Linked DNA regions of Homo sapiens: all the other regions are linked to region 4. Evidence: promoter capture Hi-C in 16 types of primary human blood cells and fetal thymus (Javierre and others, 2016). All regions are on one chromosome and are shown on one strand. The core of a region is centred on a gene start or on the middle of the fragment in contact, and the rest is flanking DNA. Distances in the headings are between cores, read along the strand shown. Region 1 has its middle 21 kb from the start of IRF2BP2. Region 2 overlaps IRF2BP2 (interferon regulatory factor 2 binding protein 2). Region 3 has its middle 23 kb from the start of LINC01354. Region 4 holds the start of TOMM20 (translocase of outer mitochondrial membrane 20).

The links. Contacts are between HindIII fragments. The CHiCAGO score rates a contact against its expected background, and 5 or more counts as called.
Region 1: a contact is called between a fragment that was not itself captured here and the fragment with the promoter of TOMM20 in region 4, in 6 of 17 cell types (neutrophils, activated CD4 T cells, total CD4 T cells and 3 more). The highest score is 8.3, in neutrophils.
Region 2: a fragment that was not itself captured here is called in contact with the fragment with the promoter of TOMM20 in region 4 in 2 of 17 cell types (naive CD4 T cells and total CD8 T cells); the score reaches 6.4 in naive CD4 T cells.
Region 3: a contact is called between a fragment that was not itself captured here and the fragment with the promoter of TOMM20 in region 4, in 1 of 17 cell types (total CD4 T cells). The highest score is 5.2, in total CD4 T cells.

What each region holds. Positions count from the first base shown.
Region 1 is chr1:234,585,338-234,592,365 of GRCh38, forward strand. No RefSeq gene overlaps it. Among named protein-coding and RNA genes, the nearest start is that of IRF2BP2, 21 kb to the right of the region's middle. RefSeq lists an enhancer at 3,353-3,853. The HindIII fragment of the contact is 5,237 bases long and covers 1-4,717 here.
Region 2 is chr1:234,598,998-234,606,204 of GRCh38, forward strand. IRF2BP2 (interferon regulatory factor 2 binding protein 2) reads right to left here. Exons shown (of 2, transcript NM_182972.3): 2 at 5,272-7,207. Among named protein-coding and RNA genes, the nearest start is that of IRF2BP2, 7.6 kb to the right of the region's middle. RefSeq lists enhancers at 354-867, 868-1,381 and silencers at 925-1,454, 1,855-1,904, 3,790-3,959. The HindIII fragment of the contact is 324 bases long and covers 4,910-5,233 here.
Region 3 is chr1:234,551,416-234,558,757 of GRCh38, forward strand. No RefSeq gene overlaps it. Among named protein-coding and RNA genes, the nearest start is that of LINC01354, 23 kb to the left of the region's middle. RefSeq lists silencers at 1,899-2,106, 3,488-3,782. The HindIII fragment of the contact is 231 bases long and covers 1,714-1,944 here.
Region 4 is chr1:235,125,388-235,132,892 of GRCh38, forward strand. TOMM20 (translocase of outer mitochondrial membrane 20) reads right to left here and starts at 3,450. Exons shown (of 5, transcript NM_014765.3): 1 at 3,208-3,450. The coding sequence starts at 3,328. SNORA14B (small nucleolar RNA, H/ACA box 14B) reads right to left here and starts at 2,550; the gene lies at 2,416-2,550. LOC105379283 (a long non-coding RNA gene) reads right to left here and starts at 2,814. Exons shown (of 2, transcript XR_949295.4): 1 at 2,242-2,814; 2 at 1,532-1,582. RBM34 (RNA binding motif protein 34) reads right to left here. Exons shown (of 11, transcript NM_015014.4): 11 at 5,796-6,610. The coding sequence ends at 6,326. RefSeq lists enhancers at 3,178-3,397, 3,628-3,727. The HindIII fragment of the contact is 4,902 bases long and covers 1,516-6,417 here.

The DNA.
Region 1 (7,028 bases), core at 849-3,348, 540 kb before region 4:
AAGGGTCCTGATTGGTGAAAATAAAAATGAGTCAGTTCTCATTTGCTCAGTTTTACCCTTCAATTCAAAAAGCCTGTGCTCTGTATCTTAGCCTCTCAGAGGCCACACCAGATTCTTGTACGGTCTGCTCAGCCTCCTCAAACTGCTGTGACAACAGCCCTGGATTCTCGGATACACTGACACATGTTTCTAACCCTCAATCCTGCCACCCTCTGCTTTTGCTCCTCCTGCTGAGAATTCCCAAGGGAAGAGCTCTGAGATCTTGACCCTCTTCAATCCCAGTTCAACACAACATCCCTTTGGTTAATTTCTGAGAAAATATCCCAAGTGGTTATTTCAGATAGTTTTCTTGGACTTACTGCTTCTGTCTTGAGTTCTGAAAGTCTGCGTATCTGTGCCCTCCTGTGTAGGCTGGGAGCTTCTTGAGGGCCTGGCTTCTTTCTTTTTGCCCTGGCACCCAGCATAGTGCCTGGTGCATGTGAATGATAAATCACGCGTGTCGAATGCATGAGTCAGTGGGGGAATGAATGGAAAAGCACTGCTTGGACAGCACAAATACAAAAACGGATCTACAGACTACATAACCAAAAGACTTCTCTACACACACATCCTGAGCACCAAGGAAACTTCTGTTTGGGCTGCTGACCATGAAATCTACTCTGCTTAGTTGCTGTGTTCATCTTCGTCCTCCAGTCTGGACTCTCAGTCTCCCTGACCCAGAACTCCTCGGCCCCAGCTCTGCTCAGCCCGACCTGGACCCTCGGCAACCTGGTCCGTTTCCTGTCTGATGTTCTTTAACATCACCCACTACCACTCTTGGCCAACTCTGGAGGTAGGGGGAGGAGAGGAAGATCTTCTTCTGCCTTGCGGCATGTCCCGGCATAACAGAAAGTCATTCTTATATGCTCATCTAGGCATTTAGACTTCTTCCAAGATTGGGTGGTGCTTCCATTCTCATAAACGACCCACATTTGCAACCTTGGAGTCATCGTTGAAGCCCCCTTCTTGTCCATGCCCTTAAACAGGTCAGATTCTGAGTCGTATCAGCCCCTTCTTTGAAATGTCTCATCTGCTCCTTCTCTGCTGCCATCCTGGTCCAGTTGCTCAGAATTGGGTTATCTTACTGGCCTGTTGGCAGCCTTAATCCTATCCCCGCCTTGTTCCAGGGTCAGCTGCCTGACTTGCCACTGTCATCATGGGCCACACTGAATTCTTGGCCCCTCCCTGTGCATGAGTTTCTGGGCCCCTGGAAGTTTCATCTTATCCTATTTACTTCCCATCACGTAGACAGTCCTTCATGCTTCCCAAAATATAGGATGCTAATTTCTGTCTCTTTGTCCCACCGCTCATGTCCCTCCTCTCAGGTCTCACTTGAGTCTGTCTTCTCCATGAAAACTTCCTTTTCCCTTTCACTCCCCTCTGTAACCACCATGCACCCCTAATCCAAATCCTACCGCTCCACACCTGCATGCGTACTATCTTACACTGGGTTCATAATTGAGTGTGCATTAGCTTGAAATTGCCAAATAGGCTCATAAGTTCTTTGGGAACAGAATGTGAATCTTAACTTGTGTTTCTCGCGGTACCTGCTGGAGAGAAGAACTTACATATTATTATGCTTGGGTTCATGATTGACTAACCTTTGCTGAAGAAAATTGGGGAAAGTGTTAGTTCACAAACATTATACATATTTTGCTTGGGAAAAATGAGGGCTTGCAATGGGGATTTTGTTGACATTGGCTGCTGCTGCTACTTTCATTTCTGCTTTTTCTTTCTCCTTCTCTTTCTCCTTTTCCTTCGTGTTAATCAAATCTCTCTCTCTCTCTCCAGTCCTTTTGCTGTAGGCTATAAGACTGTTGGATCATAATAACAATCTAAAATCTCCAGTACCACACACGTAGGAGGCACACAATAAATGTTTGTCAAATGACTTAATCCATGAAATATTTTATATCTAGAATCCTTAAAATCCCATAGCAGTGGCTGGGCGTGGGGTTCACGCCTGTAATCCGAGCACTTTGGGAGGCCAAGGGCGAGCAGATCACGAGGTCAGAAGTTCGAGACCAGCCCGGTCAACATGGTAAAACTCCGTCTCTACTAAAGATACAAAAAATTAGCTGGGCATCATGGCATGTGCCTGTAATCCCAGCTACTCAGGAGGCTGAGGCAGGAGAATCGCTTGAACCTGGGAGGTGGAGGTTGCAGTGAGCCGAGATTGTGCCACTGCACTCCAGCCTGGGCAACAGGGTGAGACTGTCTCAAAAAAAAAAAAAAGAAAAAGAAAAATCCCATAGTGGTTAAGCCAAATACCTCCTTTGTTTTTAATTCCTAAACCCAGAGCTTTCAATGTTTGAGTATCCTAAGCACTACATCCATTTCTATGTGTTTCTCTATTCGCTCCTCTTTCTTCCACTTCTATTCTGCTCTATCCAATTTTCTGCTATCCTCTTAACAGTGATTATTTGGCTTTCAAAACATCCTCTCATGAAATAAAGTTCCATGATTATTAATTGCAATTGTTGGACATTATCATATTTGCTATAGCAAGAGATAATCCATGAAGATTAATCAGTGTGAAATGTGCAATTTATGAAATGACCTTTATATACCCTAAGGAAAAAAAATTAACACATTAATAGAGATGAGTTTGCTGGTGCATTTGTTACTAGACTCTCCAAAGGTGATCATACATATTTCTAGAAATCACCTTGCCTTCGGAATTGGAGCCCCAGATTCAAGGTATGTGTGGTCTCTCATGTTTCCCCTAAACCACACTGTATTGAATTTGAATAATCAACCTGCATGTATAACGGGGCTGTCAATGAGAGTTAATTAATAATGTCACATGGCAGGACATTGCATGTTGTTGAATCACACTGCTACCTGCCACAGTAGAACTGAGGGACCTATGTGAGTGCCCCTTGAGAAAACCTAAATAAAAATCAGGAAGAGGAAATAGAAATATTCCATTGACTATTTAGGTCCATGCATAGATAGTATGTATTTTAAAACTAAATAATTTATGTTTTCTTTGTGATAGCGATTCCACATTTTATTCAGCATAGCAATCATGACAATTGATTCATAAAAGCAACATTGCCCAATCAATGGACTAGAAATACAGTCACTGTGAATATAAATTCTTTCCTCTTCTAACGATCCCAAGCTAATCATTTCAGCTCTTCTGGCTCGTTTTCCTGATTAAACCAGGAGAATAAAGACAACAGTAACATGTGACTCCTACATTAGCAAGCTAAGCATGAAGAATGAGTATAAACCCGTCTGTAAGCAAAGGGGTTTGGGGGATTTGTATAATCCATTCCATGGCACGTCTTAACTAATATTCCCTGTACTGATAAGGCCAAAAAAAAAAATGTAACTCTCAAATAGCAAAAAGAAGAAAATGGGATTAGAGTTAGATCAGCTTCACTTTATAACTATAAATAATTTAAAGCAAGTCGCTCGGCTTTGCCTCAGTTTTCTGTTCTGTAAAAGTGTTTCTTAGAGGCGGTTATGAGGATTAAATGACCCGACAGAGGCAAAACAGCTTTGTAAACCATAAATCATTTTGTTCGGAGTCAACAGGATGACTTTTTCCCCTCACACAATTTAGAATTATGTACCTGTTGAGGTAGCAACGCCCTCGTTTAATCCCAGCCATGTTTGGTCCCCAAATGCCTCTCTCACTCGCCCAGAGTGATACTGAGGCCACAAAAAGCTCTGCTGTTTTTTTTTTCTCGTGGTCTTTCTCAATTCCAACGTGGTACACAGGTACCTGGCGTGTGTCTGCTCAGACAGTGGATGGCCCTTGTTCAAAGACTGATGGGAACACCTAGTGTACGAGGTGGCGCCGGGGCCGCCCACACCAACAGGCCGTGTGCTCCCATCTCACTGTGCACGAGGAACCGGTGTGCTTTTCGGCCAGGCTGCATCACCCTCCCTCCCTTGGCTTTCTGTGTGACGTGCCTGTGCCAGAGACTGCAGTGGCAGCACAGTAAAGAGGGAAGAGGCCTAGAGAGAGGGCGGGGTGGAGGAGGCATTTTACAACTTGCTAAGATGTGTCTTCCCACCTCAGTTGTTGGTTTTTTAAACAAAAACAAACTACAGATCAAAAATCTCAAAGAACCCCCTCTTCTGGGCTGCCCCAACTTGTCTCTAAGCCACCTTCTTCCTTCATTCTTTGTCCCTGCCAAGCCACTAATCAGAACAGCGTGAATCATGCACCTCAGCTCTGGGTGGCTCCCAGCAACATCCCAGATCCCGCAGTTGTAAAGCCAGCTGCTAGGAGTTTAATCCTGTTGAGGTGAGCACTCCCTGTGTCAGAGGGAGGGGCAAACAGATCAGGGACAAGGACATCTGAAGTGAGCACATGTCCACCAGCCACGACCCCACTCTGCCATGCTGTACTGATACTGCCCTGATATCCACACAGGGAACACCCTTCTTTCCAGGCAGCCCTGCTTTGGAGGCTGATGTGGAGTACTAAGTTTATCTCCCAATATCCAGGCCATTCCTCAGCCACTGTGCAGCAACCATTTATTGTGGTGGGACTGATCCTACTCCCAATTGCAGGGAAAGACTCCTAACTAGATGCCAGTCAGGGCAATCCCATGCCTTTGCCCTGGGATTGGTTAGGGCATGGGCAGACCTGAGCCAATCAGAGCAGAGCTTTTCCTTGCCCACGATGATGATGTCGGGACTGAGCCAATCAGAGGGAAGCTTGGGACTTGTTCTAAAAGGAATGCTCTGCCCTCTTTCCTCTTGGATGTGAAAGAGAAAGTGCATCATCCTGTAAGCAGGAGGGAAGCCTGCCTGAAGATAGTATCAACATAGTGAAGGTACAGACACGAGAATCAGAGAGAGAAGATGCTTAAACCTTAAGCAAGTCAGACCTAGGGTCTACCTGACTGTAGATTTTATTAGTTCCCAGAGCCATTAAGTTCCCTTTATAGTTTAAGCCTATTTGAGTAGGATTTTCTGTGATTTTTGCCCTTGAAAGCATCGCAACTGGTAGAGGCGTCATTGTCTGGGGATGGAAAAGGAAACTTGGAAAGTGGCCATGATGGTTAATGTCATGTGTCAGCTTGGCTAGGCTATGGTGCCCAGTTGGCCAAACACCAGTCGAGATGTTGCCTTGAAAGTATTTTAAAATGTAATATTTAGATCAGTAGACTTCAAGTAAAGCAAATTACCCTCCATAATGTAGATGGACCTCATCCAATCAGCTGAGGACCTTTAAAACAAAGACTGAGGTTTCCTGAAGAAGAAGGAACGGGACCTCAAGTTTACAGCATAAATGTCTTGCTTAAGTTTCTAGCCTGCAGATTTTCAGACTGAAGACTGCAGCATGAACTCCACAACAAAATTCCAGCATGCTGGCCTGCTCTACAGATGTTAGACTTTCCAGTCTCCACAATCACATCAGCCAATTCCTTAAAATCGGTCTCTCTCTTTCTCTATCCTATTGGTTCTGTATATTAGTCAGGCTCTGGAGAGCCCTGACTTATACAGTGGCACCAAACTTGTTTACTAGGAAGGGACAGGCACTGGTTCAACTGATTTGGTGGCAAAATCTGATTTGGGAGATGATGGGCTGGGATGAGGTGCAGCAACCTAAGCTCCAAGAGTCTCAGACACAGTCCAGAAAGTGGTTGGCATCATGGAGCCCAAGATGAAGTAGCAGAGACTCAACAGGAAGCCATAGTATGGTGACAGGGAAACTGGACAGAACACCATCCCCTAGGAGATGCTGGGAAGAAAACAAGGCAAGCAGCAGAGTCCTCTTCGCTGTACTGGGGCTTATGGTAGATCTCCAGTCCTAGAAGAGACCTAAGGATGTGGGGACCGGGCAACCAAATAGAGCCTAGGCATAGGCCAAGGCACAGTCCTGTCCCATGGACTTGCCCGACATGGGTCCAGAGAGAGAAGAAGTAGCTAAGAGGTGTGATCTAGGGGCCTGGAGCCACCTAGAAGCCTTTCCTAAGGACAGTAGCCCTGGGGCTTGGCAGGGAAGGAAACCCAGGGAGCCACAAGGGAACTCAGAGCTACAAGATGATCTTGGGACTGGAAGAGGTCCCTCAAAAGTCCACTTCATGCTTGGGTTAGCCTGGGGACTGGGGCGGATGTGAGCCTTCATGGTGGGACCTGGGAGCCCAAAGCAAAGGAGTTTCAGTGTCTCTTCCTCTACGAACCCGTCCCCCTTGCTACCTCACTTCTGGCAGAGTGACTATATCTTCCCTATGCCCCCATGGTGTCTTATAAACGCATTTATTATGGCTCAAGGAAGACAAAGCAGGTAGGCCATAGCTCCCATCTTAGCAATCTTACATTGAGTCTTGACCACACATTGAAATGAGACACTCATTTGTATAGGCCCCCAATTAGTAGCAGAGGTATTTCAAATCTCTTGTCAGATATGCCCAAAGGAACCAGCCTCCTTCTGTTTCTATATTCAGACTTTGTCTCTGGTGGCCTTTCTATGGGGACTAAAGTAAAGGGCAGCAGGTCTTCCCAGCCTTGCTAGGAGGAAGGCTGTGGTCTCTTCTGGTGCCTTTGACCTCCTGGCTCCCACTGTGGACCTCATGGCAAACTTGAGCAGAGCATTTCTGCAAGGCAGTGCAGAAACGTGACCCAGTGACTTATAACTGCACAAAAGCCATGAGAACCAGCTCACAGAAAAGGCGGCATCCTCAGGACGAGCTTAGGATTCGGAAGAACTGTGTTGGATACATATCTCAGGTGGTCAGAGAAGAGTTCATCAGTCATCTTGATATTTGTAAAAATGTTGTGTAAGAAAAGCAGGTTCCCAACTTCATCACTAAAGCAAAGCTCGCGTAGAAAATCCCAAGTTAGACAATAAAAGTCAGCATTTTTATGTTACTTAAGAGTTCGCAGAGCGTTTTCATGCTCATAATTCTATAATATAAGCATTAGCGTTCCCTCCATAGCTAGGGTGTGATGAGTGATATATACATTTAGTTAATTTAGCATAAAACTGACCTTAGCCCTGGCTGCCAGGGAGAGACGGA
Region 2 (7,207 bases), core at 3,822-6,321, 520 kb before region 4:
TAAAGAGCAGAGTGCATTGCATGATTTCCATCTCAAACTTCTAAATGGTTTTTGTGCCTATTATCTAGAAAGAAAAATATGTTGGTGAAGGAAGTCTTTGGGTAGGGTTGTGTCTAGGAATTCACAAGCCTGAAGCAAGGCTTTTTTTTTTTTTTCTAGCCTCCTATCCATTCACCGGTTCATTCACTTTTAAACAATCACTAAAACTATTACACAATACTTATTCCACAATCTAGTTGCTACTTCTGGTAGCCAGCACCCTGCCCCCCCAACTCCAAGGCTGGTGATGGAGAAATAGTTTAATGTCAGTTTTTTAAAGTGACAGGGGTCATGCTGTTCATTTTTTGAGAAAATACTGCAGAGTATTAAAGGGAATAATTAATAAAAATTAGCAGTTAACTAATTGGGTAGAACCTCAGGTGCACAACAATGCTATGATCAAAGAAAAACTTTTTTCTTCAAATTTAAATAAAAGTTTCTTGATAGAAAGTAAACTCATTTTCAGGCAGTCAGTTGTTAACAGTACTCTGGGCAGTTCCCATAGGGGCATGTCCTGAGGTTTGCTTAATAAATACATTTTTATTAGCATGCACCATCCATTAGTGCTAACACAGATGCTTCTTAAACACGCGTGTTTACTTCACCAGCACGGAACATTTGGCTTATTATAGCTGCAGCCAAAAAAAAAAAAAAAAAGCAGCATCATGATTTCCAAAAAGGGAGTGACATTTGATTTGGGGCAGCTCTTGTCATGCGCCATCTCCAACTTAGAAAATCCACCCTGTACAGCCCGGCCCGCGTCAGGGACCCTTGCAGGCGGCAGCCACGGCTGCTGCTGACGCGCGTTTGATCTTTTCTGGGCCACCGAGGGCTCGCCACACCCCTGCTCTGGCGCGCACGTTCCTCGCTCGGCCTCGCCCAGCAGGAGCCAGACCTTTTACTTTATTTGGTTCACCACGCGGTCTCTGCTCCAGAGAGCGCGCCGGCGGCGGCGCACTCGGGCCCTCGCGCGCACTCGCACATTCTTCCCCGGGAACGCGGGCGGGGGGCGCGAGGAGGTGGCCGGGCCCGGGCTGCGGTCCCTCTAATTATAGCCCGGCAGCTGGCGCGCTGGCTTGGCCTGGCGCTCGGGGCCAGGACTGGGCGGCGGAGCGGAGGGGCGGGGCGCACCGGGCCGTTTCCCGTTTCCGGGCCCGCGCCCCGCCCCGTCCCGTCCCGTCCCGTTCCGTTCCGTTCCGCCCCGCCCCGCCCCGCCCCGCCCGGGGTCGCGCGGCTCCACGTGCGCAGAGCCGGGCGCGCGGAGACTGCGCTGCTCCAGCCCGGGAAAAGTTCTAGAATAGAGGCGCGGCGCAAGTCAGGGGGCCGCCTTGGAAACCGCAGCAAGGGCTCCTTGTGGGCTCCAGGCTGTTGGAGAGTGAGGGAGCCTCCTCCCCTTTCCTTCCCGTGGAGTAAACAGAGCTTGGCAGGGCTGGAGGCTTTCTTCCTTTTAAAAAGTGCCATTCTGAACAACGATACAAAGTGAAAAAATAAATTTTTTAAAAAAGAAAGGGAAAAACTACAATTTGACCATTCTGACCAGCCTCCTTGTTCCAACTGGCCTCTTGATTTGTATAAAGATAATGGGGTCCGGCGGCCCCCTTGATGCATGAATTGCACGCTGGGCATAATGAACTTATTGTGCGAAAGCACTTTGGACTTCGGACTGTGTTCCTATGTCAGAATTTTACTGTGGTTTGTAAGATAAACTGGAAGGAAACAAACTCGTGGTTAACTCTTGTCAATACGTGTCTTGAACCAAGCAAAGTGACATTTCCTACCTGTGGCTTTGACTTTAAGCTGCACAAAAGGTAGGAGCTAGCCTCTCAGCTGTTCAAAGCCTAGAATGAGATGCCTGCTTAGTAGGTGTTAAATTATAACAGCAACAACCCATATGGTGCTTATTAGGAGAATAGTATTCCAAAACTTCTCTAATGACTGTGACCCTCCTGTGAAATTCTGATTTCAATTGTATATGGGGTACAATAAATCTTTATCTTTTATCACCAGAAAAGCTAATTGAACTGCTGTTTGCAGGCAGAAATAACAAAATGGGGGTAATGGGCTCTTAGCCTGGGCTAAGACTCTCAACAGCTTTTTTCTGTTTTGCAGCTCACACATACAGTCGGCTCAGGCAGACGGCCCAAGACAAGCCTGTGCCAAAGAAATGCTGATTTAGTCTGACCCAGACAATCTCTACTCCCACATGTCACTTCTCTGCAGAACTCTTACTAGTATGGCAAATACTTTAAAAATCATACAATAAAAGAAGGCAAAACCTCAGTAATTTGAGGTTCACTTTTAATAAACTCTTTCCATGCATTAAAATAAATTGAGGCCCTGAGCTCTGGCGAAATGTTTCCGGGTTTTTAATTCCCACCGCCCCCCCACCCCGGAGGCATAAATAGCCACATACGCAATTCAAAGTACTCTATTTGAACTAGTATAGGAAAGATGTTTTCTATAGATATTGCAGATAAATTTGCAATGACTTAAATATTTATCTGCTAAAGTTGCTGAGTGCCTCCACAACAAAACCGAACTCATTTTTTGTGCACGATGGGCATCTGAATGCTACCTGATGGTGATGATATAGAAATACTAATTGCTAAGTAAAAGTGGTAAGTGATGTGATCTACAGATTATGTAATGTAGTTCATTTCCCCCAAAATGTAAACTATATTTAGAAATATTCAAATGTGACATTATTACCCTATACAGGATGTCTTATCTCAGCATCAAGGGCGTCTGTAGAGCTGCTGGAGGAGGCTCTTTAGATTACGCAATCTAACTTCTGACAGCCCATTCAAAGGATGAGAACCGGTGCCTTGAAGCTCTCAATTTAAACTAGGAATCCTGTAGTCTAGTCTCTAGACTTATCTGACCTAGGCAGAAATCATCTCCTAGAGGCTTTTCATGGCTGATTTTGTGATGTTTTACTTGCACTGAAGATTTATTATTCCATGTTTTGAGTTAGTGTTATACAGTGCCATTCTATATATTTTCCAAATAAATGTTTGTCTTACAGAAGAAACTGTTTATACCATTCTAATAGGGTTGTTTAATAAGGAAATTTTACTCAGTTGGGTTTTGGATTAAAAATAAAAGAACAGCTTTTAAGATACAATGTCTAAATGATTCTCAATAATGATCTGTCTATGGTATAGTTACTTTTTGTCCTAAAATACCTTTTCTGTGGGTTGTATGGATTGTTTTATGTTGTGCCAGGCAGATGTGCATAATTTTCTGATTAAAACCAGTGCAAATACAGACTTCATATTCTATAATCTTTTAAAGAGACAAGTTACACTTCAAATCAAACAATCAGAGAGCTGTTTCAAATCAAGCATTTTAAGTTAAGTTGTATTGACATGGGGAGGGAGCAGATGACACACCTAATGAGTTAAAACAATGTTCACTGTTAAATTAGGTATAAATTAATGTAATAACTAGGGGTAGTGTGGGTATCCCTGACAAATTATGGATTTATCTGAGGATTAATGGAGGAATCCACAGATAATCCATAAATCTACCCATTTTCTATCTTCTAACCGCTTAGCGAGTAATTTATAAATTGTCTATTTGTGTGCTTTTTAAGTTACAGTGAGGGGTTCAGACATATTAAGGAAAATGCAGGCTGTCAAGAGAAACAGCAACAAGGGATCTATAGAGTTTGTAATCTGGAAAGTCACACCCGTAATTTTTATTTGATTGTAGTACCATTGCTGTCAGAGGCCTAACCAGTGGCACTGAAGGAGTTAAAACAGTCCCCACCCCCACTCCCGATTTCTAGAACCCCACGATAAATTGGGTAAATATGTATTCCATTCATTGGTGCATCTGACCTTGGTCTGTGACAGAGGAAAGGCGTGTCTTCTCATACTGTTCCCTATGAACAAAAGGCAAGCAAATGAGGGTGACTCAGGACTTCTCATGGCCTACACACAACTGAACATTTTTCTGAATGATTCCACGTATACACTTAGGAATCAGGAAGAGAAACATTTTACTCTTCACTAACCAAATAAAACCATCTATAAATCATATGCAAAACAACTTTTGAGTAAAGAGGGACTTAAAAGTCTAGGAATTAAAAAAGGATTTCCATAGTTTCCTTTTAACTCTCCCCCAACTCCCCTTTGGGGAATAAACAAAGACATCTGCCACATCAAGAGTCTGGTTTGTTTTCTTAACTGAAAACGAAATGCAGTCATTAAAGTATATCTTTGGGAAGAGGTTTTGAAATGTTGAGAATTACTTCTACAAGCTGCACTATTTTCAATTTCACTAAAAATAAAATTTAGCATTTTTGTTACAAAAACATAGTTCATCCTATTTCTTTTAACCTAGTTATTACATGAAAAATTGTTTATCATCTGTAACTTGCTAAGAATATGGTTTCTTGAAAACCTTAAATGGACTAATAATGAAAAACTATTAAAATATATATAGTGATGGGCCCCTCCTAGTTACCAGACCACCCTAGTGTAAATATATTCAAGTACACATTCACTGTTGCTGTTTAATTTAAAACATATAGTAACTCTATGTATATCCTAGCCTCCAACTCTTTATGAGTTTCACAACTTCCTTTCATAGAGAAGTCTGCCAAGCCATTAATCAATAAAAAGAGTAAAAGCTGCAACATCTAGGAAATTTCTTATTATATGAGAGTAGCCAGTAAAATGTGTCTCAGTGCTTTCTACCTTTTATCTCTATTTATAAATTTAAGTTTCAGGATATCAATAAAGCTCATACATGGCTTTGGCTTTTTTCATTCCTAAGCTTTCCAAAGTATAAGGCTTTTTTTTTTTTTAAATCCCTTTTGTCTTTAGCGCATTTCCTATGGCCCAACGTAGCTGTTTTATTCCAAAGCTTTTCAAAGAGCAGCTCCAGGTCTTGAGAGTCTTTCCAGTGTCGTCACTATCTTCTCTTTCCAATCTACCATTGCAGAATGGCTGGTTCTGCTGCTAGTTGAAAAATAAACAAATGCTTTCTAGCCGTACTTTGTTCAGCTCTTTTATCTGTGTCCCCTATCCAGTTGCCCTTTCCGCAGTCCCTGGCACTTCTATTTTATACCATCAGTTGCCTTTTTGTTCCATGTCTTTTATCTCCTGAAGTTCAGGCAAACCCCAACCCCAAACCCACACATCCTTTAGTCACATTGCCATTAGTGATTAAAACAATAGCCATTCTAAGCTTGCTTTAGAAAATTAAAAAAGGCCTCAGAAAATGTTCAGTGCTCCCAATTTTATTTTTATTTAATGCTAAAAGTTAAAGAAAAAAAGGTACTGTAAATCTGACAAATGACAGAATTCAGGTGATATTTCCATAGCGTGATTTTAAAATATAATAATGTTGGTATCTGAGATTACACTCACTTCAGTTGACATGAGTTTCATCATATATAGAAAAAGTATCACCTTCAACTTAAAAAAAGTAAAGGTTAAAAGGTGGCACACTTTTAAAATACTTGGTGGCCAAGGAAAGGTATATAGTAAAAGTTGTAAACCATGTGTATGTTCTCATAACTTTAAATGTGAGGCCACATGAAAGACAGTACATCTGTTAAATTCTATAAATTGTTAAAAGCAAAAAAGGGAAAGCTTCAACACCCCATCCCCTAATATTTTGAGTATTAAAAGCACAGCTGAAATATTAGGATTTGAAATCTGATACTGCCCATGTACAGTAAGTAGCTTTGTGACATTTTTATCCAGCTGTGGAGAATCTCTGCACTGTCATCAGGTACAACAAAAGATCAAACCCATGTCCCGATGTTAACTTTTTAACTTAAAAGAATGCCAGAAAACCCAGATCAACACTTTCCAGCTACGAGCCGTCCACAAAGGCCACCCAAAGGCCAGTCAGACTCGTGCAGATCTTATTTTTTAATAGTAGTAACCACAATACACAGCTCTTTAAAGCTGTTCATATTCTTCCCCCATTAAACACCAGTACAGAGAAACCACAGGTTGCCCTTTCCACAGCTGGATAGACTTATCCAAAACGGCAGGATGGTTCTGTATTAATCTTTTTGGAAAGCATGTCTGTATTAAGATTGCAAAACATACAGATAGCTACCACAAATTAGGTCAAACGACTGATCAAGTTGTAACATCTGTGAGGTCAAATTCCAAAGTGCCTAGATACACATTTATACAACAGACCATAAGAGCTGAATTCTTTACAAATGTCTTTATGGGCATGTAAAATTGACTCTGCATTTCTGCATGTGTGCATTCACATAAGAGAGACCAGTCTGCACTGAGTCATATATACTCCAACTTGAAAAAGTAAGTGTAACAACTGGTTAATCATGCAAGTCTGTTTGTAATATAACAATGACTGGTAAAACATGAATTCTCGCACAGTAGTAATAGGTGCACTCATTAAAAACACTACGGAAAAACACTGTATTTGGTGCAGTATCTGATTTTCAAGTGTTAGTAACTTGACCATTAAAAAATAGTTTTGAACAATTTAAAAAGGAAAGACAAACATATAACTAAAAAAGAATCCAAAGTTGGTAAAAATCTGTATTTTCAAATGTAAATAGAAGCTAGGCTGTGAACCATACACATAAATTGTAGACCTTGAAGCCATAATTCAGCCTAATTATAAGGCCAAGTTACAAACACCTGAACGTAAGGATTTAAAATAGTGTTCCTGTCAATGTTAAATCATAACAGCACAAAAGAAAAACCAGTATCACTGTGAGACAACTATTTCTAATAATTGATGATTTATTGGTTTTAAAAAAATCATTTTACTGATGCAAAATAGTGATCAAAAGAAATTAGTTTACAAAAAGACTTCTAAAAATATTTTGAGAGGTGGGGCCTGTCTATTATATAAAACCCTTAATTTCTTTAATTTCCACTAGTTTATCATTTTTTTCCAGAACAGTATTATTCACTTGGTATTTCAAACACATGTTAAGAAGGAAATTACAGGTTTCCTCCACCCACATTTGGGCTGTCACTGATATGCCCAAGGGCAGTCCTGGCAGCACCACGCGGCTGTTACTGTCATTGTACCATACTGTATTCAGCACTCACTAGAAACAGGGTATAGGTGATAGTATCAACAGCAATAGCACTACAGGTAAATGATAAACAAAACAAAACAGAAACAAAACCAATCCCACAATCTCCAAGTTCACCTGGAC
Region 3 (7,342 bases), core at 579-3,078, 580 kb before region 4:
TAGGAATCTAACTCGCTCTCTGTCGTTGTTTTTTTTCTTTACACCGAGTCGTGCTCTGTCGCCCAGGCTGGAGTACAGTGGTGCAATCTCAGCTCACTGCAACCTCCGTCTCTCATGTTCAAGCAATTCTCATGCCTCAGCCTCCCGAGTAGCTGGGATTACAGGCGCCCACCACCATGCCCGGCTAAGTTTTGTATTTTTTAGTAGAAATGGGGTTTCACCATGTTGGCCAGGCTGGTCTCGAACTCCTGACCTCAAGTGATCCACCTGCCTCGGCCTCCCAAAGTGCTGGGAAAACAGGCGTGAGCCACCGCACCTGGCCTCTGTCATCTTTTTTTAGAGACAAGTTCTCGCTCTGTCACCCAGGCTGGAGCACAGTGGTGTGATCACAGATCACTGCAGCCTTGAATTCCTGGGCTCAAGTGATCCTCCCACCTCAGCCTCCCTGAGCAGCTGGGACTACAGACACACGCCACCACAGCAGGCTAATTTTTAAATTTTTTATAGCGAGAGGGTCTTGCTGTGTTGCCCAGGCAGGTCTTGAACTCTTGGCCTCAAGCAATCCTCCTGCCTCAACCTCCCAACGTGCTGGGATTAACAGGCAGGAGCCACTATACCCGGCCAACTCTCTTTGATCTTAAACCAAAGAAATGAGATTTCTCCGAAGCCAGAGTTATAAGTGATGGGGGTCAATTGTGAGGAACTGAATGGATTTAACTGTGAATGGTGTAGAACTTATTCTACAGCACACTAAGGTCAAATCAGATCTGTATTCTCCTACGCAAACAGTAGGAAATGTGGGAGATTATGTGATACTGAAAAAAAAAATGGAAAAGGAAAGCAATTCATTTTCTTCACTGTTACAAAACATCACTTTTGTGTGTATAAACCTGGAATCAATTATTCAACTTCCCTTATGGATAAAGCATAACTTGTAATAAACAGCAAAGAGGGTTGTTCATTTCACTTAATGATAAATAAAATGATGTTTGACCAATTTGATGAAGACAGTAAGTCAAACTTAAATGGTCGGGCATTTTATGTTGCTGAAACTACTAATCTTATTAAGAAGCTTTTCACATTTAAAATATGCAAAATGCAAGCAAAATTTAGTAGAGAAAGTAAAGTTAAATATTTAATGACATAATTAAGTCTTATTAATGGTATGTTCTTTATTTTGCAGATTAAATATTCACAACGATTATCATCTCTTTCATCTTTATTACTTAAGCAATGTGTTTTTCATAATTATTTGTTAGGTATTTTCATTAACATTTGATGAATATTAATAGTTAAAATAAAAAACAGTTTTTATTTCTGTTGTAATGACTTTATGGTGATCATAATATGTAAGTAAGTGTTTATAATGTGCGCTACTGGTTAATATTTAGATCACTGATTTTTTTCCACAGAATAGAAACGTGGATATTTATGGGTGATAAATGGCAATCATCACATTCTTCCATTACTCTTTATTTATTTATTTAATCTACTATTCTTAATGTAGCTTCATTGTGGGAGACATATGAATTGCAAGCTTACAATGAAGGCTAATAAGTAGAATTTTAGGTTGAGTCCCACTCTTGCATTAATAATGGTTTGCCTCTCTTTTTAGATGTACTGATTCATTTCCCATTTTTACCTCATTCCCCTCACGGATTTGGTCCAGCAGAGTTAGATGGCGCTGGTACCTTTTCCCTCCATGACCTTTAAAGCTTAGACTGATGGCCTCACAGATATTTTTCTTCGGGGACAAAGGATGAGGATTTTCCATCCCGAACAACATGAAGCAAATGCGCATGGATCTCCTGATTTTTCATTCAGACAGTGATTACAGAGTAAACAGCACTGGGTCAGATCAGCGTGCACGGTCAATGTGGCCTGCATATGGTGACTATCCCTCCCTGCACCGTGTGGCAGCCACATTGTCCTGACCCACTGGGAAGCTTGTCACTTCCAGAGCGGCCCAGGAGATGCATGTCGACCATCCCCACTTCAGGCTCCCACGTGGCAGGCTGCAGACCCCTGGCCAGGCTTTTTTTCTGAAACCTTTAGTGGATTTTCCTTGAGGATGACCGACAGAATGATGGTGATGTATTCTAGTCTCATGGTCAGGCCTGCAATCACATTTCGAAGCAGCCTCCAGATCCCTGCTCAGCATTCTGTGACTGACGCGGGTGGAGGCATTACAGTCCAGACAGAGTCAGTGCTAATCAGAACAGGATGCCCTTTAGCTTCCTCGGGAAAGCTTTATCTCTTTAGCAGGAGCTATCTGCATTTTTAAAGCCACAGCCTGTTGGAAAGAGCTCCGAACCACAAAAATGTACAGCAGGGGTAAGCAGAGTTCCTAGCCATTAACCACCTCCAGGCAGTTAATCATTTCAGTTTAGAAGAACCCACGTTCGCTTCAAGAGCAAGTATATTCTGTTGGAAACCTACTATGTTGGGCTCTTTCGAAAGCTAGTTCTGATTCTCACAATGCCCTGCTGAGCGGACGGGAGTCCCCCGTTGTATGGACAAGCAGATGAAGCTCAATGAATTAGTTGACTGCTCTAAGGTCTCATGGTTGATCTTGGGCACAGCTGGGGTTCGAAGCCCGTTCTTTCTGGCTCAGAGTCCTGTGCTCTTCTCAGCAGGATGTGACGCTACCTCCCCCACTGCCATTTTTCTGTGTGATTATATGGGACCCAAGCTCCAGGTAAATCTGATTGTTAAGAAAAAGCCCCAATATACACAGAGGCACAAGAAAAAGGAATAGATCTCACCCTGTTGGTGAAGCCAATGCGTGAACCTAATGTGCAGAAAGACACCACTGACGTCTTCCCGGGCCCCTGCCTCGCATCCTTGCCTTGCTGACTATTTGGCCCTGGCCTAGAAAATACAGTGCTCATTCTCAGACGTGTATGTGCAAGTGTTTGTCTCTCCAGCCAAGCTGTCCTCAGGTCCTTAGCCGTCTGCGTGTTCCCCAGCTCTCTACAAACAGCTATCCTGGAATAGCTAAAACTGAGATTTTAATAATGTGTGCTTAAAGCATTTATGCTAAAAAAAACTTGCCAGTTCTGGCCATTTCCAGTAACAATATGTGCTCTCATCACTGCTAAGAGTCTGGCAATGAGCAGATGATGCTACTGAAAGCAAGTGAAGACAGTGAGACAGGGCTCAATCCATGCCATGCCTCTGAGAGCCTAGGAGTCATGGCACAGCGCCAAGAATACCCCTTCAACATGACAAGCAGGACTCAGTTTCCCCCTTTTGAGCATATCAAGGAAAAACATATGTAAGGGCCTGCGCAGTGACTCACGACTGCAATCCCAGCACTTTGGGAGGCCGAGGCGGAAGGATTGCTTGAGGCCAGGGTTTGAGACCAGCCTGGGCAGTACAGCTGGACCCTGTCTGTACAAAAAATTTAAAAAAATAAATAAAAACACATGTGGACTCAACAAGGACAAATATGGACTCCTTGCACCCTGGGGTGAGCCGGGAGGGGCGATGCAGTCCGCACCAGCCAGGACCGCACACGTGGTGACATCAGGCCTGCCTTCCCTCTCATCTGTAATGTCTCTCCTTGTCCAGCCTGCAATGTGACCATTGTTTATTACCTATTGAGCCCCAGCACCATATTTGGCTCTGCAGGCAAGATTGATAGATTCTTGCTGTCACCAGCCGCACTCTGATGGCAGCTTTCCAGGCCTCCTCCTCACCCCTCCCCCAGCCCCACTCCACCTTCCAACAACCCCAGAGGCTCAGAACAGGCCTCCCCACCAGCAAGGCTGGCACAGACCCTTTTGAAGAAGCCGTTTCCAGGAGAGGAAGGAGCTGAGGATGGATGCCCAGCCGGCCTCCATGCTCAGGAACTGCCCACCCCAGTGAATCGTCTCTGCCCTGGAAGCTGCTGACAGCAGTAGGGGCCTTTCTGGAACCATCTCCCTCCCAACCTGCCTTGACTCTATGCATCTTCAGAGGAGAGAGGATTTGAGTCTCATAGGCCTGAGATACACAACATTCGGTGGGAGGGGAAAGCCTGGATGTAAGGGTCAATTATACCGCCTTATGGGGAAAAAAGTATCCAACTCGGAGTCTGGAATGGGAATGACACACAGCTGGAGACCATTTTCATCAGGTGACCTAAGGCACGCTGCTCCAGCTTCATGGTGACGTGATTCTGTGTTGGTGCTATGGAACCACTGTGGCTTCAAATAAGGAAGGACACTTTGGAAAGCTGAAAGGCAGTGAGGTTGAGGGACTGTGTCCCAGTCATGAGACTGAGGTGATGGGTCCTTGTTATGTCACCCACAATCGATGTCACCTTAGGTGTTGTGCCCTGAAACTCACTAACACCCGTCACCATGTTTACCATGACCAACCCAGGAAATACCTGTTTCATTAACTCAACTGAAGAGGAAGACATTTCGAGAACCAAACCTGGAGACTAAGAGCCTGAAATTGCTGATTAATGGGTCAAATCAGCACCTATGGTGTGCCAGGCACTGTGGCATTGTGGCACTGTGCCAACCCCTGATGTGTTTTGTTTTTTTTTTTGTTTTTTTTTGTTTTGAGACAGTTTCACTCTTATTGCTCAGGCTGGAGTGCAATGGTGCGATCTCGGCTCACTGCAACCTCCGCCTCTTGGGTTCAAGTGATTCTCCTGCCTCAGCCTCTCAAGTAGCTGGGATTATAGGCGCCCGCCACCACACCCAGCTAATTTTTGTATTTTTAGTAGAGATGAGGTTACACCACATTGGTCAGGCTGGTCTCAAACTCCTGACCTCAGGTGATCCACACACCTCAGCCTTCCAAAGTGCTGGGATTACAGGTGTGAGCCACGGCACCCGGCCTGATGTTCTTGAAACAGCAACTCCAGTCCCACTCTGGACCTGTGAAGCTCACAGTTCAGTAGAGGGGTGTGGTGGTTTTTCCAGCAACAACCAATCAGTTAGATTCTCCAACACCATCTGGGTGTCCTACAAGTCAATTCATTTCTGACACTAACTACCCGGATTGAGCCCAGACCCCACAGATTAAGGGCTCAGCCCAACTAAACAGCTCCCATTTCAGATGCCAGCCACAAACAGGGTCCCATGTGCTATGGTGTGAATGTCTGTGTTCTTCTGAAATCCATGTTGATACCTATTCCCCACTGCAATAGTGTTAAGAGGTGGGGTCTTTGTGTGGGGATTGGGTCATGAGGGTGGAGTCCTTATGAATAGGACTCTTAGGAAAGAAGCTAGAAGCAGCTCATTCACCCCTTCAGCCATGAGAGGACACATAGAAGTTGCCGTTGTATGAGGAAAAGACCCTCACCAGACATTGAATCTGCTGGCACCTTCATCTTGGACTTGCCAGCCTCAGAAGAATGAGCAATATATTTCTGTTGTTTATAAATTACCCAGTCTGAGGTTTTGTATAGCAACCCACACAGACAAAAACAGCAAGCTACTTACACTTCTGCCTAGCCAACCTCACATTCGAGCCCCCATCAGGTTCAGTAATTCACTACAAACACAAACCTCAGGAAAATGCTATACTTACATTACAGTTTATTATAAAGGATACAAACGAGCAGCCAGATGAAGAGGTACAGAGGACGAGGTCTGGAAGGTTCTGAGCACATGAGCCTCTGTCCCCATGGAGGCGGGGCACACCACCCTCCCCGCAGGCAGATATCTTCAGCAACCTGGAAGCTCCTCAAACTCCATGGTTTAGAGTTGTTTTGGGCTTTTTGTTTGTCTGTGTGTTTGTTTTTGAGACAAAGTCTTGCTCTGTTGCCCGGACTGGAGTGTAGTGGCATGATCACGGCTCACTGCAGCCTTGATCTTCTAGGCTCTGGTGATCCTCTTGCCTCAGCCTCCTGAGTAGTTGGGACTACAAACACATGACACCACATCTGGCTAATTTTTAAAAATTATTTGTAGAGACACAGTCTCTCTACGTTGTCCAGGCTGGTCTCAAACTTCTGGGGTCAAGTGATCCTCCTGCTTTGGCCTCCCAAAGTGCTGGGATTACAGGTGTGAGCCAGGTGCCCGGCTCCTTTAGAGTTTTTCATGGCAGTTTCATTAGGTAGTCATCATTGATTCAATCACTGGCCGTTGGTGGTTGAACGCAACTCCCAGCCCCCCTCCTCTCTCTGGAGGTAGGGTGGATGATGCTTGGGTAACACCTATGAGCATCTCATCAGCCTAAACCCAGGTGTACCAAAAAGGCTTATTATCAATAACAAAAGGCATTCCCATCATTCAGGACATTCCAAGGGTTTTAGGAGTTCTGTGTCAGGAACCAGGGCAAAGACCAAATCATATATATATAGATATATAGATATATACACATACTGGTGTATATATATAGAGATATATACACACACACACATATATATACATAGATATATATATACACACACGTATATATACCTGTATATATATCTATATATACATATACATATATGTATATGTGTGTATATATACATATATATGTATATACCTATATATAGTATATATATACACGCATATATATGTATATGTATATATATCTTTTATATATATATAGGTATATATATATATACCTGTGTGTATATATAATATATATATATATCTGTCTCTTTCTCTGTGTGTGTGTGTGTGTGTGTGTGTGTGTAATACCATAGGTGGCAGAAATGCTACAGAGACCTGAGGCAGGGCTACAGGGTGGCAGAGGACTGATTGCTTCTTCCGCTAACTGGGCAGGCTGCACAAGGGAAGGGGCCTGTAGTGAGACCCACTAAGGGAACAGTACCTGCCAAGGTTCCCTATGGCTGCGGCATCGGGTGCAGTCTACACCTTCCCATCGGTCTGACCTTGGACTGGTTACCCCCACCTCCAAGCCTCAGTCACACCATTTATCAATGGCGCTAACAACTGCAACACTTCAGGGTTGTTATGGCGTTTAATGAAACCCTATAAGCCTCCAGACCGTGCCTTGCACACCACGCCTTGCGCATATCAAACACTCCATGAATTGAAGCTATGATTATTGGGTGATGATGGTCATGATTAAGGAAAACTTCAGGGGGATAGTGAGAGACTGTGCGTGGCTGAAGCACTAGATATGTAAGTGGCTTGATTATCTCCTGATCTGTGAGACATCTGCTTACTCAGGCAACCGTACACAGACCACCAGACAACTGGCTCCCAGACGATTGCTTAATGGTCCATGGGGCAACCTATCCTCCTTCATGCTGAGGGAACCGCAGGGCTCTCCTCCCTGTACCGGCTTCCTAGAGGCCCAGATGTTTTGCCTAGTTTGGCTGGCATGGGGTCCTAATCTGATCGTGCCGTTAATTAGAAAGAGCCTATCTTTGAAACAACAGCCA
Region 4 (7,505 bases), core at 2,200-4,699:
CTATTTTTTAGTAAAGACGGGGTTTCACCATGTTAGCCAGGATGGTCTCGATCTCCTGACCTTGTGATCCGCCCGCCTCGGCCTCCCAAAGTGCTGGGTTTACAGGCCTGAGCCACCACGCCCGGCCGCCTAAGTCTCTCTTCTTAACAAAAAAGAAAGCCAATGAGCTACATGCCTTATGTGAAAAACTGCTCTTTTATTGCAGATGTAAATATTCTATTGGAAATAAGACTAGAAGAACTCAAAATTTAAAAAAAATTAATTTTAAAAACTCAAAATTAACTGAACAGAATTTCATTCCACAAAGGCAAAATACCCCTAAACTTTTTAAAATCAGCCAGTCACGCAACTGCACTTTTTTTTTTTTTTTGAGACCGAGTCTCGCTCTGTCCCCGCTCTGTCCCCAGGCTGGAGTGCAGTGGCGCCATCTCGGCTCACTGCAACCTCAGCATCCCAGGTTCAAGCGATCTTCCTACCTCAGTCTCCCAAGTAGCTGGGACTACAGGTGCGTGCCACCACGCCCAGCTAATTTTTTTTTTTTTGTATTTTTAGTAGAGACGGGGTTTCACCATGTTGACCAGGCTGGTCTCGATCTCCTGACCTCATGATCTTCCCACCTTGGCCTCCCAAAGTGCTGGGATTACAGGCGTGAGTCACTGCGCCTGGTCGATAGATTAGATTAGATAGATAGATAGATAGATAAAGATAGATAGATATAGATATAAATATATATAAAGACACACACACACACACACGTATATTTTGGAGACAGAGTCTTGCTCTGTCCCCCCAGGATGGAGTGCAGTGGTGCAGTCTCTGCTCACTGCAACCTCCACCTTCCACATTCCAGCAATTCTGCCTCAGCCTCCCAAGCAGCTGGGACTACCGGCGTGCACCACCACACCCGGCTAATTTTTGTATTTTTAGCAGAGTGGGGGTTTCACCATGCTGGCCAGGCTGCTTGAACTCCTGACATGAGGTGATCCGCCCACCTCGGCCTCCCAAAGTGCTGAGATTACTAGCGTTGAGCCACCACACCCAGCCTCAATTACCTGTGAACAGACTGCAAGATTATTCTAAATAAATTTTACAAAAACATCAAACAACAAAATATTTCTACTCATAAAAATATCTCATCCGGACGCGGTGGCTCACGCCTGTAATCCCAGCACTTTGGGAGGCTGAGACGGGCAGATCATGAAGTCAGGAGTTCGAGACCAACCTGGCCAATATGGTGAAACCCTGTCTCTACTAAAAATACAAAAATTAGCCTGGCATGGTGGTGTGCGCCTGTAATCCCAGCTACTCAGGAGGCTGAGGCAGAATTGCTTGAACCCGGGAGGCGGAGGTTGCAATGATCCGAGATCACCCCACTGCACTCGAGCCTGGGCGACAGAGCGAGACTCAAACAAACAAACAACAACAACAAAAAATCTCTAGCATTCATCAATTACCATGTGTGAGGAACAGGACTAAAACTCTACACTATACCATTTTACAAAAAGGGAAAACTAAAGCTTGAAGTTACTTGCCTAAAGTTACTGCTGCAGCTAAGTAATTCACTGTAATCATTAGGTTGCCGCTAAATCCAGAAAAAACAATTTTAGATTGAAAATGATGGAGAAGTTATTTTGAAATAACATTCCTCCATTTGTCTAAAATGATAGCTCTTGTTTCTGCAACAGGACTTCAGGGTTTCCAACGGAAGATAGGGTTAATCCATTCTTTATAACTCTGCATTTGTACCAAAGCCCCCAGCTGTCACCCATTTTGGCAACTACAGGACAATAACCCGAAGGCAGAATGACCACCAGCATTTATGGAGGAGCATTTCCTATGTCAGAAAACGTGGAAGGCAATTCAAACATCTCAACCTTCACAAGATCAACAAGAGGTAGGTGGCATTACCTGATTTTACAACTACAGAAATTAGGATTCAGAAACCCCAAATTATGCCGCTAACCTGGCCCTAGAAATTCAAGGTCTGAATGTAAAACAGTATTCTATTAGTCTGCCTAGTCATAAATCAAATTATGTCTATATCCCTTCCCTCCTAAAACATAAGAAAGCTGGAACTAGATGTCTGATTCTTAGTGCTAGTAAGATCAGCGCTGCAGTCACTGCTCACACAGGGCTACTGAACACTTGAAATGACTTAGTATAGCTGAATTAAACCGTAACCACTGTTACTTAAGTAAACAATAATCCCTTCTTTGTACCCCTTGGGCTTTAGTAACTTACGTATCAATTTTAATTCCAAAAACTAATTTGGCTGAACAACCAAGATAAGCCAAAAAATATTTCTTATTGCAACAAATTTGCTCTTCAATGATGCGAATGAAGATTCTCCGAAAATTCAAGGTGGATCACAACGGTTTTCATGACACGATTCCCCTCTGGTAGACCTCTCTTAAAAGATGTCGCAGGTATGAAATAAGACTGAGCCACGGGAGAAGCGCAGCCCTTTGGACTCCCCTGCAATTTCTATAGCATTCACTCATATCTTGGAAGCACTTAGAACGAAGCTACCAAGAGGGTTTAAGAATGCAGCAATGAGCCAGGCGGATCATCTGAGGTCAGGAGTTCGAGACTAGCCTGACCAACACGGTGAAACCCCGTCTCTACTAAACACAAAAAATCACCGGGCGTGGTGACGCCCGACTGTAATCCCAGCTACTGGGGAGACTGAGGCAGGAGAAGCGCTTGAACTCGGGAGGCGGAGGTTGCAGTGAGCCGAGATCGCGCCACTGCACTACAGCCTGGGCGACAGAGCGAGATTCCGTCTCAAAAAAAAGAATGCAACAATGATACTGCACTGAGCATGCGGATTTAGCCTCAGACTAAAATTTGCGACAAAAATGCACGACTTTTTAGTTAAGAGTAGAGGTTTAAAAAGATGAACGACAAAAAAAGAGACAACCTCCTCCCCAGGCCACACACACCCGAGATTGCAACAGAAATCAAGAGTGCATTTGCACGGCTAAAGTGTCTGGGGAAAACAAAACGGGAAAAATCCTTCCTCCAAAATGGAATTCCTACGGGGCACTAGAGCCCCCGGAGCGGCGCAGCCAGCGCCATCGCCTATTGAGGGCCGCACCACGCGGTCGCCCTGCGCGGCCCACAGGCTGGTGGGAGGCAATGACCCCTCCTGTGAAGGGCGGCGGCCGAAGGCAGCAAGCCTGGCCAGGGGAGAGAGGACCCACTCACGTTCTCGAAGCCTGTTCTTGAAGTTGGGGTCACTTCGTCTTTTGCGGTCGAAGTAGATGCAGTACCCAATGAAAAGGGCCCCGCATACACCGGCGGCGATGGCGCTGTTCCGACCCACCATCTTCTCTACAACGCTGAGCGTGGACGGTGGCGGCAGGGACCGCGAAGGAGCGGTGGGCCACGAACCCTCAGAGCGGTCGGCGCAGCTCACACCCGACGGCCGCGGGCCAGGAACACAGAAAGGCCGAGCACACGCCACTTCCGGTCCCAGTCAACTAAGGGCCTCGAGGTCGTCCGCGGCAGAGCCTGAGCAGAGGCCCAGAGCGCGGCTCCTGCGCCTGCGCAGTGGGCGAAGCCGGCGTTTCCCCTGCGCCGCTGGGTGTACGCACTGGAGTCGGGAATTTGCACGTGACCACGGACTTTTTTTCATATCCGCCGACCATGCTGTAACGAGGCGTACGCGTTACTGGCGTGCACGTACTCAGAAGACTAGCTGACAGCCTTGTTTGTGGCAGACAGAGATGCAGGGTCCCAGACTGCGAATGCTTCATCTTGTCTAACACAGGCAGCCTGTGACTTGTTTGAATTAAACTGTACTTTCTTTTCAGGTTGCCACAATCCATTGTGCGTAGTGGTTCCATTTCAAAAGAATGTTACAGGATAGCCTCATTTTATGATAACTGGAATAAAATTAAATGGAGTAATTTCTTGAAAAATATACACAATTGAAGAAAAAATAGAAAACGTGAATTGTTTTATAGCCACACGAAAACATACACATGATCAGGCCAGGCGCGGTGGCTCACGCCTGTAATCTCAACACTTTGGGAGGCCGAGGCAGGCGGATCACTTAAGGCCAGGAGTTTGAGACCAGCCTGGCCAACATAGTGAAACCCTGTCTCTACTAAAAATACAAAAATTAGCTGGCCATGGTGGCCGGGGCCTGTAATCCCAGCTACTCTGGAGGCTGAGGCGGGAGAATCGCTTGAACCAGGAGGCAGAGGTTGCAGTGAGCCAAGATCGAGCCACTGCACTCCAGCCTGAGTGACAGATCAGGAGTCCGTCTCAAAAAAACAAAATATATATATATATGATCTAACTTAAGATATTGACAAGGAAAATCGTGGGCAGAAAGCAGGCATTAAACAGACACTGTAAGTTGAGGGGTATCGAAGTCAAGCATCAGTGTCAAGAGACATTGGAACCAGAGCTACCTTACCTTGAATAGGGGCTGGGTAAAATGAGGCTGAGACCTATTGGGGCACATTCCCAGGAAGTTTGGCATTCTTGGTCACAGGATATTTACAGGGAAGGGAACAAGTTAATAATGTTTACCTAACAGACCCAGGAAATGTCCTGATGTCCTGATATCTTAAGAACAAAAGCATTCTTAGTTTAATTTTCCCTTTAAAGATAATATTGATCCTTGCAGAAGACAGTAGTTACACAGGATTAACAGTCCTTTGACAAAGACCAGGCAGTGTCTCACACCTGTAATCCCAGCACTTTGGGAGGCCCAGATGGGCGGATAGCTTGAGCCCAAGAGTTCAACACCAGCCTGGGCAACATGGTGAGACCCTGTCTCCACAAAAAAATTAAAAACTTAGCCAGGCGTGGTGGCACACACCTGTGGTCCCAACTACATGGGGAATGATGCGGAAGTATCCCTTAATCCCAGGAGGTTGAGGCTGCAGTTGAGTTATGATTGTACCACTGCAGTCCAAACTGGGTGACAGGGTAAGACCTCGTCTCAAAACAAACACACAAAAAATCCTTTGTCACAAGCTCTTGGAGTAGAGCTCATCTTCCTCATTTTTTTGCTGTTCAATACAAACAAGCCTTGTACCTAAGGTGGACATGTTCCTTCTCTTGCTTTAGGGTATGCACCATTCTACAAAGTAACCTTTCACTTTTTTTTTTTTTTTTTTTTTTTTTTGAGACAGTCTTGCTGTCACCCAGGCTGGAGTGCAGTGGCATGATCTTGGCTCACTATAACCTCCACCTCCTGGGTTCAAGCGATTCTCCTGCCTCAGCCTCCCCAGTAGCTCGGATTACAGGCATGTGCCACCACACCCAGCAAATTTTTGTATTTTTAGTAGAGATGGGGTTTCACCATGTTGGCCAGGCTAGTCTCAAACTCCTGACATCTGGTGATCCACCCACCTCGGCCTCCCGAAGTGCTGGGATTACAGGCATGAGCCACCGTGAGTGATCTTCTTTATTTTCTTAATAAACTTGTTTTCACTTTACTCTGTGGACTGGCCCCAAATTCTTTCTTAGGCAAGATCCAAGAACCCTTTGTTGGGGTCTGGATCTGGATCCTTTTCCAGTAACACGAGGTTGCATAATAAAGAATTTGGCTGGCCTTTGTCCCCAGTTCCTGGGAGTTCTAGCCCCTTGGAATTGATGAGTGATTCACTCCTGTAATCCTAGCACTTTGGGAGGCCAAGGTGGGAGGATCACTTGAGTCCAGCAGTTTGAGAGCAGCCTGGGCAACAAAGTGAGATACTGAAGCGACATCGTTTGGGGTAATACCCAAGGTTCATTGCTTCATGCCAAGGAAATCAAGAACTTGAGCACACACGGAGTAAGGTTAAGAGCAGAGGTTTAATAGGCAAAAGAGAAAGGAGGCTTGGGTGCAGTGACTCACGCCTGTAATCCCAGCACTTTGAGAGGCCAAGGCAGGTGGATCACCTGAGGTCAGGAGTTCGAGACCAGCCTGGCCAACATGGTGAAACCCCGTCTCTACTAAAAATACAAAAAATTAGCCAGGCGTGGTGGCAGGCGCCTGTAATCCCAGCTACTTGGGAGGCTGAGGCAGGAGAAGCGCTTGAACCCAGAAGGCAGAGGTTGCAGTGAGCCAAGATCACGCCACTGCACTCCAGCCTGGGAGACAACAGCCAAACTCCATCTCAAAAAACAAAACAAAAACAAAAAAACCTTCAAAGGTAGTATCACAATGTGAATAAACTGAGAATGTGGAAGTCTCCACATTTCACATACACCATCCATAAAGAAGTATAAAACTCAACACATGAATAGCAGACGATGCTATCAGCAGATAATAGCACTTTTATTAGCAGTACTCAGCAGGAAAAGAAAAAGCAGTTCCTGGTTGTTATTTCTGTTTTCTCTGTTTCTTAGGGCGTCCACTTTTCTTCTGTCCTTTCTTCTTCGTTTTAAGGAGAACAGCTTTTTCTCCAATAAATAAGCTTTTAGGATGTCCTTCTGCAGTTTTGGAAGTAAAATTAAGTCCCTGCTTAGGTTTACTGACATTCTTCAATCGTGGATTTGAATTTTGTTGTTTAAATTTTTCTTTATTAACAGAACGCATGACTCTGAGTTTTCTCCCCATGAGTTCAGAATTATTTAATTTCAGAGCAAGATGAACAGAATCTGTATTCTGCAAAAGAAAACACAATACATTAATTGCTACCAGAAACCCATCTGCAAAGAAACTAGTGAAAGTGTCACTTTAACAGATGAGAACGACTTTCAAGCTTGCACAGATAAGCCCCATCCAATCCCAGGTGTATCAGCTGCTGCACTCGAAGTCTCCTCATCACCATGCTCGTCACCAGTGTTTCCTCAGAAAGCACTCAAGCTGCCTTGTGAAATGTTCAGCTAAGTCACAATGCTACAGGCTTCGTGGTTTTTTTTTTTCATTGTAAAATGAGGTTCTAGACTAGATTAGTCATATGCAATATTGGCTTTTTTTCTTTTTTCTTTTTTTGAGACGGAATCTCGCTCTGTTGCCAGGCTGGAGTGCAGTGGCACGATCTCGGCTCACTGTGACCTCTACCTCCTGAGTTCAAGCGATTCTCTTGCCTCAACCTCTCAAGTAGCTGGGATTACAGGCGCGGGCCAACATACCCAGCTAATTTTTGTATTTTTAGTAGAGACAGGGTTTCACCACGTTAGCCAGAATGGTCTCGATCTCTTGACCTTGTAATCTGCCCACCTTGCCCTCCCAAAGTGCTGGGATTACAGGCATGAGCCACCGCGCCTGGCCCCCATATGCAATATTTTAAACGAATAAACCTCCTTCGTATAGCCATCTTTCTGTCAAAGCCCCATTGTATTAGCTGACCAGAGGGCAGGGAACGCTCCATTACGAGATGTTGGACTAGACACCCTCTAGGGTTCCATTTAGATCCAAAATTCTGTTATACTTCTGTTCCAATATAGAGCCATTAATGCTAACAACCCTGAATATCCATGAGATGTTTGTTAAAGGACTTTAGAAGCTTATCAAGTAATAGAAGAAAGGGAGCAGACAAGCAGAAAGGTAACTACAA